5 separate regions of the Homo sapiens genome follow, and regions 1, 2, 3 and 5 are each linked to region 4. Evidence: promoter capture Hi-C in 16 types of primary human blood cells and fetal thymus (Javierre and others, 2016). All regions are on one chromosome and are shown on one strand. The core of a region is centred on a gene start or on the middle of the fragment in contact, and the rest is flanking DNA. Distances in the headings are between cores, read along the strand shown.

The links. Contacts are between HindIII fragments. The CHiCAGO score rates a contact against its expected background, and 5 or more counts as called.
Region 1: a fragment that was not itself captured here is called in contact with the fragment with the promoter of EIF1AX-AS1 in region 4 in 1 of 17 cell types (neutrophils); the score reaches 10.2 in neutrophils.
Region 2: a fragment that was not itself captured here is called in contact with the fragment with the promoter of EIF1AX-AS1 in region 4 in 1 of 17 cell types (naive CD4 T cells); the score reaches 5.6 in naive CD4 T cells.
Region 3: a contact is called between a fragment that was not itself captured here and the fragment with the promoter of EIF1AX-AS1 in region 4, in 1 of 17 cell types (activated CD4 T cells). The highest score is 5.7, in activated CD4 T cells.
Region 5: a fragment that was not itself captured here is called in contact with the fragment with the promoter of EIF1AX-AS1 in region 4 in 6 of 17 cell types (neutrophils, total CD4 T cells, total CD8 T cells and 3 more); the score reaches 9.0 in neutrophils.

What each region holds. Positions count from the first base shown.
Region 1 is chrX:19,357,873-19,360,572 of GRCh38, forward strand. It overlaps PDHA1 (pyruvate dehydrogenase E1 subunit alpha 1), which reads left to right. Exons shown (of 11, transcript NM_000284.4): 10 at 1,044-1,152; 11 at 1,617-2,700. The coding sequence ends at 1,781. It overlaps MAP3K15 (mitogen-activated protein kinase kinase kinase 15), which reads right to left. Exons shown (of 29, transcript NM_001001671.4): 29 at 2,187-2,700. Among named protein-coding and RNA genes, the nearest start is that of PDHA1, 15 kb to the left of the region's middle. The HindIII fragment of the contact is 2,804 bases long and covers 15-2,700 here.
Region 2 is chrX:19,562,679-19,565,378 of GRCh38, forward strand. All of the region lies in intron 13 of SH3KBP1 (SH3 domain containing kinase binding protein 1), which reads right to left. Among named protein-coding and RNA genes, the nearest start is that of MAP3K15, 49 kb to the left of the region's middle. The HindIII fragment of the contact is 4,351 bases long and covers 1-2,700 here.
Region 3 is chrX:19,613,607-19,616,306 of GRCh38, forward strand. All of the region lies in intron 8 of SH3KBP1 (SH3 domain containing kinase binding protein 1), which reads right to left. Among named protein-coding and RNA genes, the nearest start is that of MAP3K15, 99 kb to the left of the region's middle. The HindIII fragment of the contact is 387 bases long and covers 1,067-1,453 here.
Region 4 is chrX:20,138,717-20,141,416 of GRCh38, forward strand. It overlaps EIF1AX-AS1 (EIF1AX antisense RNA 1), which reads left to right and starts at 1,252. Exons shown (of 2, transcript NR_046592.2): 1 at 1,252-1,519; 2 at 1,619-1,728. The region is part of intron 1 of EIF1AX (eukaryotic translation initiation factor 1A X-linked); the gene reads right to left. RefSeq lists an enhancer at 2,364-2,523. The HindIII fragment of the contact is 4,524 bases long and covers 828-2,700 here.
Region 5 is chrX:19,338,780-19,341,479 of GRCh38, forward strand. No RefSeq gene overlaps it. Among named protein-coding and RNA genes, the nearest start is that of PDHA1, 3.8 kb to the right of the region's middle. The HindIII fragment of the contact is 5,401 bases long and covers 1-2,700 here.

The DNA of each region.
Region 1 (2,700 bases), core at 167-2,666, 780 kb before region 4:
CCTCCTAATAAGAAAGCTTTCTGAAAATGCCTACAGTGTATAGTGTGTGTGAGCACAAGCAGCAATTTTTAAAGAAAGAGTGTTATATACCTTAATTGTAGAGGGAAATTGTTACATAAAACAGGGCTGATGGTAGTGTAGTATCTTGGGGGCATTTAGCTTTTGTAGGCATTACCCCAAGTCTACACCTGGCATACTCTACCTGAAGAGGATCAGAATTTGGAGATGTTCCTCTGTCTGGTATAGAGCTAAGGGTAACTGGGTGTTCAATCCGTTGAAATACATCAATCAAAAAAGCTAGGTTCCACTAGGAAGGCATGAATTTTACTTTTTTGCTTAGTAGCTCTGGCCTGTGATTCTGGAATCCCAGTTTTGACACAGTTGAATAAATAAGCCTTTGTAGAGTGGACTTCTAAGGAAAAATCATGTAGAGAGCACAGTATATGGAAAAATGCACTTTGTGTAAATCTATTGTTGAAAATGGTAGAATCCTTTTAGTGTTACTTCAGATGATATAGGCATAAGATACATTGGTTTTGCTGGCTGTGCTTCTTTAGGGGGACTTAAGGGAGAAAGGCAAGGCACATGGATTTCCTGCTTGGCGCTCTGATGTCTCAAAGTCTAATTATCACCACACACACCATCTCTGCTGTCCCCACCCATGTAGTATACAGGAGCCCAAATGGGTGGGACAAGTGACACTTCTTTAGAACCTTACATCTAAATCAAAGCAGCAAGCAAAAACTTGGCCCCTGTTGTCGGAATGCCAGGGAAGCCATGTGACTCACCAGTGTACGGTTTTCTAGAAAAGACAGAAGCAGTTATTACAGAATGTTAGGCTGCGTTCTGGTATTTTGAAAGTATAACAACAACTCTGCCACGCCTATAGTGACATAAGCATTGGTATGCCCCTTTGTTTCAGAAACACACTTCTGTATTTCACCTCATTGGGACAATCCAACCCCATATCATGTTTCATCACGCCGTCCTTGCTCTACTGGAACTGCTCTTACTGATCGATTACTACTTTTCCCTCCCCATAGTTACCGTACACGAGAAGAAATTCAGGAAGTAAGAAGTAAGAGTGACCCTATTATGCTTCTCAAGGACAGGATGGTGAACAGCAATCTTGCCAGTGTGGAAGAACTAAAGGTACAGTCACTTGTTCATGGTGGTTTGAAGGTTGGCTTTAAAAGTTGCCACCCCTGGGTGGCCACAGAGTTTGTGTGGGTTCCTCCAAGCCCAGAAAGTGATGTCCTGGGACATAAATAGTTCCATAGTTCCAAAGTCCCTTGGGGTGGGGGCTTTTCCTTTAGTTTCCTCTATTCAAAATTGTATTACTCTTCAGATTTCAGATTTTGGTGGACTGTGAACCACCATCACAGTGGCAAAGCCCCCACAGTAGTATGGTTCTTTTTTCCTAAAAGTATACTGTGGATTTTTAATTCATAAAATAGATACACCCTAGAAATCTGTATTCCAAAATCTTCTGAATTAGCAACTGTTCGTACTTGTAGTTAAAGAGTTACACCAGCAACAGGTCCTCAGCAGAACTCTAGTTGGTACCTAAGCTGCTGTTCATTCTAAAACCTTTTACACTGTTACCTAATTTTTAGGAAATTGATGTGGAAGTGAGGAAGGAGATTGAGGATGCTGCCCAGTTTGCCACGGCCGATCCTGAGCCACCTTTGGAAGAGCTGGGCTACCACATCTACTCCAGCGACCCACCTTTTGAAGTTCGTGGTGCCAATCAGTGGATCAAGTTTAAGTCAGTCAGTTAAGGGGAGGAGAAGGAGAGGTTATACCTTCAGGGGGCTACCAGACAGTGTTCTCAACTTGGTTAAGGAGGAAGAAAACCCAGTCAATGAAATTCAATGAAATTCTTGGAAACTTCCATTAAGTGTGTAGATTGAGCAGGTAGTAATTGCATGCAGTTTGTACATTAGTGCATTAAAAGATGAATTATTGAGTGCTTAAAGATTATTTTTGACTTAAAATAGTATACTTTGAACAAATACTCTAATTATGAAAAGGAAGAACAATTCCTTGTATGCCTGTTTCCCCTGCCCCCAGCCACCTTTTTGGGAGGAGACCATTATGGCGGGGCCCCTCACAGCATTCTACCAACCATAGCACCCACCCCGAGCAGCGCTGGTGCTGCAGCCTGTTCGCGCTGACCATTTCTCTACAAGATACAATATTTATTATCAGGCAAGAGGACAGTTCCATTTTAAAATAAGACTTTTGTAATCATTCCAATTTTGTAATCATTTCAAAGGCCACATAACTTAGTTTTCTCTACTTACACATTCAGTATAAATATGAAGCTATTTTCTGTTCATATCAAACATTAACTACAAGGCACATTCGTATCAGTTTTGTGTTTCTCAAATTGAAGTACCATACCAGTTCTGAGGCAGTGTCCCAGCTTCCATGTTTGTTAAATACCCCTTGTTTGTTTCACCATTCCAGCAAGTGCTGAAGGGTGTACTTTTTTTGAGACAGGGTCGGGCTCTGTTGCCCAGGCTGGAGTGCAGTGGTGTGATCATGGCTCACTGCAGCCTCCACACCTCCTGGGCTCAAGCAATCCTCCCACCTCAGCCTCCTGCATAGCTGGGACTACAAGTGAATTTCCTAATATTCCGGGAGGTCAAAACCAAGGCTCACTGTTTTCACAATACACACAGTTCTATGTTTATA
Region 2 (2,700 bases), core at 180-2,679, 580 kb before region 4:
ACATTACCAGGGGAGGCAGGACATGCTGACTCTGCACATAGGTGAGCATTTGGGGCTGCCTGCAAGTCCACACAGCTACTAGCCTCTGTGACCCTCTCCAAGCCAACAGCCATCTGAATTGATGCTCCCTAAATGTCCCTCCACCTCTCTCAGGTCAGCTATTTTGCAGGCTGGTGGGTATAGAGCACTTGGGTAGGACAGTACTAATTTGCTCTCTGTATATTGGAATAATTCATACCACCAAATGCACTGCTGCAGTGAGGTTCTGCAACATTTGCCATCATGTCCCCACTTTGACGTAATCTCCCCCTGTTTCTATAGCATTTGTGAGGCTTTTCCTACAGGCACTTTCAATGTTTACTGAGTTTGCGCTTATGGGATGTTATGGGGTAAAAGATGTTCGTGAAGACCCTCATAACTAAGCACAAACCCAGCCACCGTGATGGACCACCAAAGGCCAGCAGGACCGCCCTGTGCAAGGTGCACAGGCAGAGGTGAGCACCTCGGTTCTGGTGAGGATCAACATCTTTGACTGAGAAAGTCTAAGTGGAGATGCTCATTTTACACCCAAGATCAGGCCCTTCAAAGGGCCCTGAAGGACCATCTCCTGTAGGACTGGAGGATGCCTTTCGAAATGAGTGCTGGTTGCCAACTTGACCTTGTTTCCTCAGCAGCACACCTCCACTGTGAGCCTGAGAGGCTGGGAACCAGGGGAGGGCTCAAGGGCGATGCAGGGAGAAGGCCATCCACAGAAGCTGTTCTGAATTAGCTACGCCTCTGTAAGTTCGAGGAAGGAACCCAAAATGCTCAGAGGATTGCCTGGGTTAAAAACCCATCAATCAGAAGCGCAACCTGTTTCACTTCCTTTGTATAAAGCGTTTGACCCTCAGCACAATCTCTTTTGCTTTCTGTCATCACACTTGAGAAATGTATAGTGCTTTTCAGCTACTCCTGACAAAAATTTAAGTTTGATCACGATTTGTGTCCCTAGATAGGGACCGGAGCTGCACACGTCCACACATGGGCACCGCAGCCCGTCATATGCAGACTTGACTGTAGACCAGTAGCAACCGTATCTCCTGTTCTTCAGCACAGGTAACATCAACCATGTCCTTGGTCCCAAAGGCTGTGTCTGAAGGTTGCCAGTAAGGAGACAGTGTCTGTAGGAGCCAGCCGTGGCTCTTCAGTGAAAGTTCTCATGTCTGAGCAACTAATCCCGAGAGAGCTGGAAGGCGCGGCTGTTGTTCACACACACGCTCAGCCAGTAGTCAATCTGGAACACTCCAAGTGTCATTCATGGGTTTTTGTTTTTTTTTAATGGCAGGCAGGACACAGTATATCTTGTTTTATTGAACCTGAGCAATTGCTCAATGATCTGACATGCTGCAAGGACCAATAACTGGCTCTCTGGCTCCAAAAGGGGAAGTTTAAAATATGTATTTTAAAAACAGGACAGAAAAACCAATAGCCCCAAGTCAGGAGATCTGAATTTTTCCTCAAAATTTGTATGAGAAACCCTTAGAAGTGATTTATTATCATGAAAGGTAGAAATTGCAAAATAAGGTAAGAATGTAATCACTTGTTTGTAGACATTTGGTGTCACATTCACAAAAATGTTGTGTTAATGGTCGCTATTACAATTGCTCTCTCTTGCTCTCCTGTATAACTTTACCATACAGAGTACAGATTTAGAACTTAGTATTGATCAAATTTGTTATTGTCCTTTTATGTAATACCCGTTTAAACACTGGGTAGTTGATCTTTGGCAAATATCTAATCACAAATCCAATACTCTTTCTATTTGAAATCAGACTCAAATGGTATCATTTCACTTGCTGCAAGCCTTAAGATGGCCCCTCTCCCCTCTCTTCTCTCGCCTCTCTCTCTCTCTCCCCCCCCTTCCTCTTTCTCTCTCACAAAGGTCACAGTCATGTCCTTGGTTGATGTTTAATTACTTCAAATATAATTACTTTTTTGTATATGAAATATTTTCAAACTAGGTTTTATAGAGATTCTCAGGAAATGAGACAGGCCACTCCAGGGAACACAAGTTGCACTTGCAGGGGAAGCCTGTCCTCTTCCTGTTCCTAACACAGACTGGGCTCTCTGGGCCTCGGTGCTATTGACATTTGGGGCTGGGTCATTCTTTGTTGTCTGTGGGGGCTATCCTACACACTGGTGGATGGTTAGCAGCATCCTTGGCCTCTATCCACTAGATGCCAGTAGCATCTCCACCCCCACCCCTATGATGTGACAGTCAAAAATGTCTCCAGACATTGCCAAATGTCCCCTTGGGGAGAGCAGTTGAGAAATGCTGATGTGGACCTAGAAGGTTTGGGCTCATGGGTCAGAGAGACCTGGCTTCAACTCCAATTTTTTTTTTTTTTTTTTTTTTTTTTTGAGGCGAAGTCTCGCTCTTGTCCCCCAGGCTGGAGTGCAGTGGTGCAATCTTGGCTCACTGCAACCTCCGCCTCCCGGGTTCAAGCGATTCTCCTGCCTCAGCCTCCCAAGTAGCTGGGATTACAGGCGCCTACCACCACACCCAGCTAATTTCTGTATTTTTAGTAGAGACAGGGTTTCACCATGTTGGCCAGGCTGGTCTCGAACTCCTGACCTCAGGTGATCTGCCCGCCTTGGCCTCCCAAAGCGCTGGGATTACAGGTGTAAGCCACCGCGCCTGGCCTTCAACTCCAATTTCTT
Region 3 (2,700 bases), core at 10-2,509, 530 kb before region 4:
ATACTTTTCCCTATAAAATGCAAATGATGTTTTTCCTTTTAAGGAATGAATGAATTGAGCATTAGGCGTTGTGTAGTCCAGCCTCTGCGTTCTGCTACATCTCAGGTTATCTACTCCCTCCTAGCATACTGCTTATAACAGGGAACTCACTTTGTCACAAGGGAGCCATTCCTTATTTTGCCTGACATGTTCAAGTGGAACTCAGAGAGAGGTGGAACAGAGCAAGCATGGGCCATGTGACACTTAAGCTGTTCCCTAGTGACGAAAGCTCCCTGGATCTCGGTTTCCTGACACATGTGAAAATCTTTGCAAAGTATAAAGAGTGACACAAGAGCTGGTTGTTGTTATTGTCATCATCGTGATTATATGGCCTGGTCCGAATCCCTGAGGGACAATGTGACCAGGAGAGCTGCTTAATTACACTCATGTGCATTTGTCATGCGACCCAGCGCCATCCTCGAGTGCCAAGGAGCCACTCCTAGTCCCTGCTGCCTCAGGTGAAACCCCCTGGCAGCAGCTCACACACTTGGAGGGGGTCCAAGGGGAGGGATGCCAAGGCCCCGGGGTGTGTCTGAGGAAGGAGGCCTTGCCCAGACTTCAGTATCGGGCCTCAGTCTGTTCAATCTTGCCAGCATGGCCCCGTGTAACCTGGCCGAAGTGCTCCACACAGCTGAGAGCGACTCCCTGACATACAACCTGTGGGCACAGAGAGGGCACGTGAGACCTGGTGTGCCTACCTCTAGTCTAGGCACTTCAAATCTGTAGAAAAGACAAACTTGCCACCTAGCTTGTACATTGGTTAACAGAATGAGCTACAATCTCATCTTGGGCTGTTTTGTCAAGAGTACAAAGCCATGTACTAGATGAGTGGCTCTCACACCTGTCTGCACATTTAGAATCACCTGGGAATTTAAAAGAAAATGCCGATGTCTGGGCCAGACTCCATACCCATTAAATCACAATTTGGGGGTGGGGAATGGGCACAGGAAATCAGTGCTTTTACAATGTCCCTAGGTTTTTCCAGTGTGTAGGCTGAGAATCAGTGATTTAAGAGGAACGCTTCTCAAGCTTTAATGTGCATGCTTCTCACTTAGGGATTTTGTGAAAATGCCAATTCAAATTCAGTAGGTCTGGGGCAAGTCTGAGATTCTACACTTCTAAGAGGTTCCCAGGTGATGCCAATGCCGCTACTCCGTGGACCATACTTTGAGTCACAAGGTTCCTGAAAACGATAAGCTCCTTGAAAATGAGGATTCTTATCTTCACACCTCTGTCTCCATCTAATTCCTGCCGTAGTGCCCGGAACATGTCAATTCTGAATAAATGTTGACTGAATAGATGAATGACCCAATCTTCCTCCAGACTGTTGTTCCACTTCTCTCCACTTTCAAACATCAGAAGTGAGGTCAAACTGAACAAGGGGGAAGCAGGTATAGAATTCCTACACAAAGGAAGCTTCATCTATATGATCAGGCTTTACCTGCTGATCTGTTCTGAATTTATTATTTATTCAAAATTGTGGCAAAAACTTTAAAATTACCCCAAAAAGGAAGGCTACATTTTCTCAGGCATTGTAAGTGTCTTCTTTGAGTTCAAATGGGAACATGCAGCTTAGAAACAGACATTTCAAACCAAAAACTGAAAACATAAAAATGGGTACACCACTTGATGCAAACGAAAAAGAAATGTATTCTGCTCAGTCACTTCTGGTGGTCAGCTGCCCCCAGGCTCCCCAGTCCCAATTTCCCAGAAGTTATCCAGCATGGCTGTTCTTCATGACCTTCCCTGATATCATTTGAGGAGAAAATGAGTGTTGGACAATTTGGGTGAGGCTGTTAAGTGAGCCTCAGCATGCCCCCAGAGGGCCTCACACCCTCAGCATCCACCAGCAGTATGGAAACAGGCATTTAATATTTGCTAATGAACGCCTTCTGCATAGAGCTTAGGGGTGGGGGCTATTGAGCGAAAGTTCCATGGAAGCCGGGGCCCAGAAGCACTCATCTCTGCCTCTGCTTGTTAACACCTCCCCAAGAGATGCAATTATTCTGCATGGCTGGGATTTCTCTCAGAATTTTCTACATCCCCATAAATCAGTTACTAAAGGAGGCTCAGCCACATATCATGGTTTATAAGGTAAGAAGAAAAAACGAGGACTACACTGACTACTATTCAGTGTCAGAAGCAATGCCTGGCAGGCCAAAAGTAAAGAAAGAAGCCTGAGGAGACAGTCCTAGGGACGAGCTTACTCAAGAAAACACTACATTCCAAATGCCAACATCACAGGATAACTAAGGCTTAGGCAGTCATTCACTTTTTTTTTTTTTTTTTAGACGGGGCCTCACTCTGTTGCCCAGGCTGGAGTGCAGTGGCATTCCAAAGTAGAGCCATTGTTGAACGTCTTTATACAGAAGGATAAATACATCATGGCTCACTGCAGCCTTGACCTCTCAGGCTCAAGCAATCCTTCCACTCAGTCTCTCGAGCAGCCAAGACTACAGGCATACTCCATCATGCATGGCTAATTTTTTAATTTTTTGTAGAGTCAGGGTCTTGCCATGTTACCCAGGCTAGTCTCAAATTCCTAAACTCAAGTGATCTGCCCGCCTCGGCCCTCCAAAGTGCTGGGATTACAGGTGTGAGCCACCACGCCTGACTGGCAGTCACTCACTCTTTTGTAATACAACGAAGTCATGACCCAGA
Region 4 (2,700 bases), core at 2-2,501:
TTTAAAAGATCACTTAAATTAAAAAATTCATCTATTTTAGCTACACAATCATATTAAATTTACAATCTCCAATCCCAACATTAACACATTATCACCTCCCTACCCTTCTTGGAATTTCCTTTGGGGATTTTTCTGACATAAAATACACATAAATAGCAGATATTATGTTAAAAAATATAGAAAAACATTTCACTTTAGCACCCATCCTTTTGAAATAAAAATGCAATTCTATACATATTCTTCTAAGCGGAAATCTTGGGTGTCTTCTAAAGCCAGGCCCTATGCAAGGAACCCGATACTTTCAAAATTAAGTGAAGACAGTGTCTGGACAGAGAACTGTGGTTTTCAAACTTTTGGTAGCAGAGTACCATAAATATTGAAATCTCACTGGGTGCAGTGGTGTGCGCCTAGGGTCTCAGCTACTCAGGAGGCTCAGGTGGGAGGATCACTTGAGCAAGCCCAGGAGGTTCCAGGCTAGCCTGGGCAACATAGCGAGACACTGTCTCTTAAAAAATAAAGAAGATCTGTTCGGTACCCAATTTACTTTCTTTTATAATGCTGGTCCCTACTCAACATCCCTGTTTCTATTATATGACCCCAGTGACCATGCTCTTAACCACTATGCAATAATTCTGCCCATTTACTTGTCACAATCACCCCATGAGGTCATAACATTCATTTATTCCCAGTTTACCCATGAGTTCCCTGAAGCTCAGAGAAGTTAAGTAAGTCGCTTAGCTTCAGTGAGTAAATCAGTTCACTGATTACAGTCAGTAAGCTGGGGTGACCAAAGTCACAATGTTTTTTTTGCCCCTAGCCCCCACATAAGCTTACCTCTCCACAGCATTTTGCTCCCATTCCAGAAAGGAAACCACATTGGCAGCCATTTCCAAAAGGCAGGAAAAAGGCTGTAAGTGGTAATGACCCTAAGAGACTCATGGGAAGAGCTTGGAAGCAGCAAAAAAAAATGGAGGACACTTAAATTAGGTCATGAAAAGTACCATTCCTCTAAGTAAGATAACTAAGAACTGATTGGTTTCAGACAGTACAGGAATGATAAACACCAAACTCAGCCTGGTGATTACCTCCAAAAAGAGAGTAAAAGGTGATTAGGGCTTTACCTCAATCTGCGCTGTAATTCTTAAATTCAGAGTAATGGGTTCCCAGGTATATCATGTTAGCTGTATTTTTTGTATGCCTCAAATGTTATTTAAGAAAAGACTAATTACTTGTCAATTTACCAGAATTAACCATACCCGGATCACTCCCCTTTGTATTTTATTGCCATGTAATGGGATGTTCTTTAAATTCTCTGTTGAATGAATGAGACTAGGTCTGAGTGTACAACAATTAAAGTGACATCAACATTCTTTAAACCAGAGTTGTTTTGGAGAAATTCCCAGAGAGGCTCTTTCTTAAGACATGAGGCTAGGGAACTAGATGTGATTTAGTGTAGAAGTCCTATCCCCTTGGAACCAAAGCAGAACCTATTATTCACTAAGGGTGGAGTCGACAGGAGGTAGGTGACTTAAACCAACAAATATTTATTAAGCATCTACTAATTGTCAAGTGCTGGCAATCCAATGAGATTAAGACAGATACTATTCCTGCCTTGTAGAGCTTACAGCCTGGTGGAAGAATTGGAAATCTTATTACTAGAAATAAAGGTGAGAATAAGATGGAAGTGATCCCCTTACCACCTCAGAGAGAATAAAGGATTATACAGAAGAAAACTGTAAGACTTTAAAATTTTTTGTTTATAACTCCATCTTTTCCAAAATAATGAGCAGTGACTGCACCAACTTGTGCACAGAACACCTCGACCAAGTACCCTAAGGGATAAAGTAATAAGTGACAGCTACAAAGAGGAAATGTGGTAGAATCCCTGGAGCCAGCTGTCAAGTAGAAAAGAGAGCAGAAGTAGGCCTGTGTCAGGGGAGGGTTTCCTCTAGAATGAATAATCAAAGGAGACTACTTACGGACTATGAAGTATGCTCCTCTCCTGTAGGAAAATACAGTATTTTCCCTATATTTACTTGCACAATTTTCTTCAAGTTATACGGCTATTAAAAATGACAGGAACACTGTAAATCTATAAAAGTAATTTCTTTAGGAGTGTTCTGTTTTTTGTTTTTGTTTTTTTTTTTTTAAGATTAGGCCTTCCGTTTTGGAAATCCCAAATAAAGTTATCCTCAAGTCTGATCATTTGTGAACGCTTAGCCTCAGAATGGAGGACACTTAAATTAGGTCTTTATTCTCACAACATATGCATCATCTGAAGCAAAAGTAGAAAACTTGGCTCAATATGGAATAAGTCTTCAGCAAACAAACATAAGCTATATCCTGTAAAGGGATGGAGAGAGTAAATCTCTAGAGGTGAGCCTTAGAAATGTATCAAGGTTTCACCCACTGTTCACAAGGGACAGCGAGTAGCCTCAACAATACTGAACTGTCCATAAAGAAACCCATGCAGGAGTACCTGGTGCTCACGAATGCAGACAGCACTCTGAAAGTTCAGAACGGCTTCCAGGGATTATAACCCCTCATGCCCGGGAAGGCCAAAGGGGCCTATCTACTAAACCTAGGCCGCCCCGGGGAAGGTTCCCGCCACCGTCCCCACCGAGCAGCGGTCAGTCTGGCGCGAATCAGGAGCAAAAGCCCACATTCTCCCGCAGGAGGCCCTACAAAAATGGCGCCGGC
Region 5 (2,700 bases), core at 148-2,647, 800 kb before region 4:
AGAGATGGGGTTTCACCACGTTTGCTAGGTTGGTCTCAAATTCCTGGGCTCAAGCAATCCACCTGCCTCAGCCTCGGAAAGTGCTAAGATTACAGGTATGAGCCATCAAGCCCAATCAGTGTTTGTTGTTTATAAGTTACCCAGTCTCACGTATTTTGTTAAAGCCGCCCAAACATTACAAATCCCCCAACAGCTTGATCTAGTACTTCCTCAGGGGTTACAACACAGGGATATTAAAATTATATGGTTCCTTTTTTATTTACTGCTGGAAATTATTCTATAAAGAACTATTCCTCATCAACTGTTTGTTGACATTGAAATTCAGTCTATGTAAGAAAGACAGGATAAATCCTTGGTTCTTTCCCTTTGCCAGATTTCAGAATAATTACTATTGGGCTGGTCTTTGCTTCTAGGTATTTCCAGTGGAGAGAGTTAAGATACACACACACATACACACACACACACACACACACACACATCGTTTTTGCTTTGAGACACAGTCTCATTCTGTTGCTCAGGCTAGAGTGCACTGGCACGATGATGGCTCACTGCAGCCTCCACTTCCCAGGCACAGGTGATCCTCCTACCTTGGCCTCCCTAGTAGCTAGGACTGCTGGTATGCGCCACCATGGCCGGCTAATTTTTTATATCGTGTAGAGACAGGGTCTTACCATGTTGCCCAGGCTGGTCTTGAACTCCTGAGCTCAAGTGATCTGCCCACCTTGGCCTCCTAAAGTACTGGGATTACAAGTGTGAGCTACCGAGCCTAGCCAAGATGTATGTATGTGTGTGTGTGTGTGTGTGTGTGTGTATCTTGAGGGGGGGAAATAATCATGAGTTTATACTGATATTTCCAATTCAAATTCAGGACCTCTTGGCTTTGACCTGTTGAATTTTACATTTGTGTCTCTGTTTTTTATACTGAAAATCTTGGTTCCCAATGGCATTAACATAATTATATATTTACTTTATCAGTGTGGGTATGTGCAGTCTTAAATAATAACACCTGACAAATGAGAACAATTTAAGATTTTTTTCTGTAGAGATGGGGTCTCCCTATGTTGCCTAGGCTGGTCTCAAACTCCCGGGTTCAAATGATCCTCCCACCTCAGCCTCCCAAAGTGCTAGGATTACAGGTGTGAGCCTCGCCTTAAGATTTTTTTTTCCAGTTCCTTTTGTCTTTAGGCTATACCCCACCAGGCATATGCAGTCACATTGCTGTGGTGTGAAATAACTTGAAATCATTCTCTGCGGGGTTATGCTGACAACTTGGTATGTTATTAAATTGGTTTGTTATATTTCATTTCCATTGTTATGTCATTGTGTTTTATGGTCGTGTAAAAACATTTATATGGTTCCAAAGTTAAAATGACCCCTAGCCATAATCCTTTCACCAGCTGCTGCTTAGTACCTCAAAGACATTTGCAAAGATTTGTTGACTTTTATGACACATGTATATGATTGTCCTACTCTAATTCATCTGCTGGGGGATGGGTGTTTCTTACTGGAAAACCGGAGACATGTCAAGGAGCATGATTTGCCTTAAAGCTCAGCTTGATCGAATACTTGTAGGGTGATTCGCTAACGAAAGGTAAAAAGGCATATTTCAGGGTCTCTAATCAAAATTGCCCTGCTTCACCCAGATACGTTTTTTTTGTTTTGTTTTTTAGAGAGATGGGGTCTCGCCCTGTCACCCAGGCCGCCATGCAGCGATGCCGCCATAGCTTACTGCAGCCTCAAACTCCTAGGCTCAAGCAATCCTCCCTCGTCAGCATCCCTAGTAGCTGGGACTACAGGCATGCAACACCATACCAGACTAATTATTTTATTTTTTGTACAGACGAGTATCACTTTGTGGCCCAGGCTGGCCTCAAACTCCTGGCCTCAAGTGATCCTCCTGCCTTGGTCTCCCAAAGTGCTGGGATTACAATTTCCCCCAAGATTAACGAGCCCTCCTTTCTTAAGACTTTCTCTTCCCGCCTTTTGCAAATCTTTCTTTCTCTCCGGCCTCCTCTCCTGATACAAGAGTCTTTTGTGAATGTTCTAGCGCGTTACTATAGCCTATAGTTATTATAGCCTATAGTTAATGACTATAACATTACTATAACGTTACTATAGCCTATAGTTAATGACTATTAACCACAATCATCACCTGTCACCACTTGACACAGCATCTCACAGTGTCCCTCACCTTCAAAGTTGCTTCCAACTCTGCTTTCAAATATCTGAAAACAGCTGGGCGCGGTGGCTCACACCTGTAATCCCAGCACTTTGGGAGGCCAAGGTGGGCAGATCACCTGAGGTCAGGAGTTTGAGACCAGCCTGGCCAACATGGTGAAACCCCGTCTCTACTAAAAAAATACAAAATTAGTCGGGCATGGTGGTGCTCGCCCGTTTTCCCAGCTACTCGGGAGGCTGAATGAGGAGTATCACTTGAACCTGGGAGTCAGATGTTGCAGTGAGCCAAGATGTCACCACTGTACTCCATCCTGGGCAACAGAGTGAGAATCTGTCTCAAAAAAAAAAAAAAAAAAAAGAGGCCGGGCGCAGTGTCTCATGCCTATAATCCCAGCACTTTGGGAGGCTGAGACGGGCGGATCACGAGGTCAGGAGATCAAGACCATACTGTCTAACATGGTGAAACCCTGTCTCTACGAAAAATACAAAAAAAATTAACCGGGCGTGGTGGCGGGCACCTGT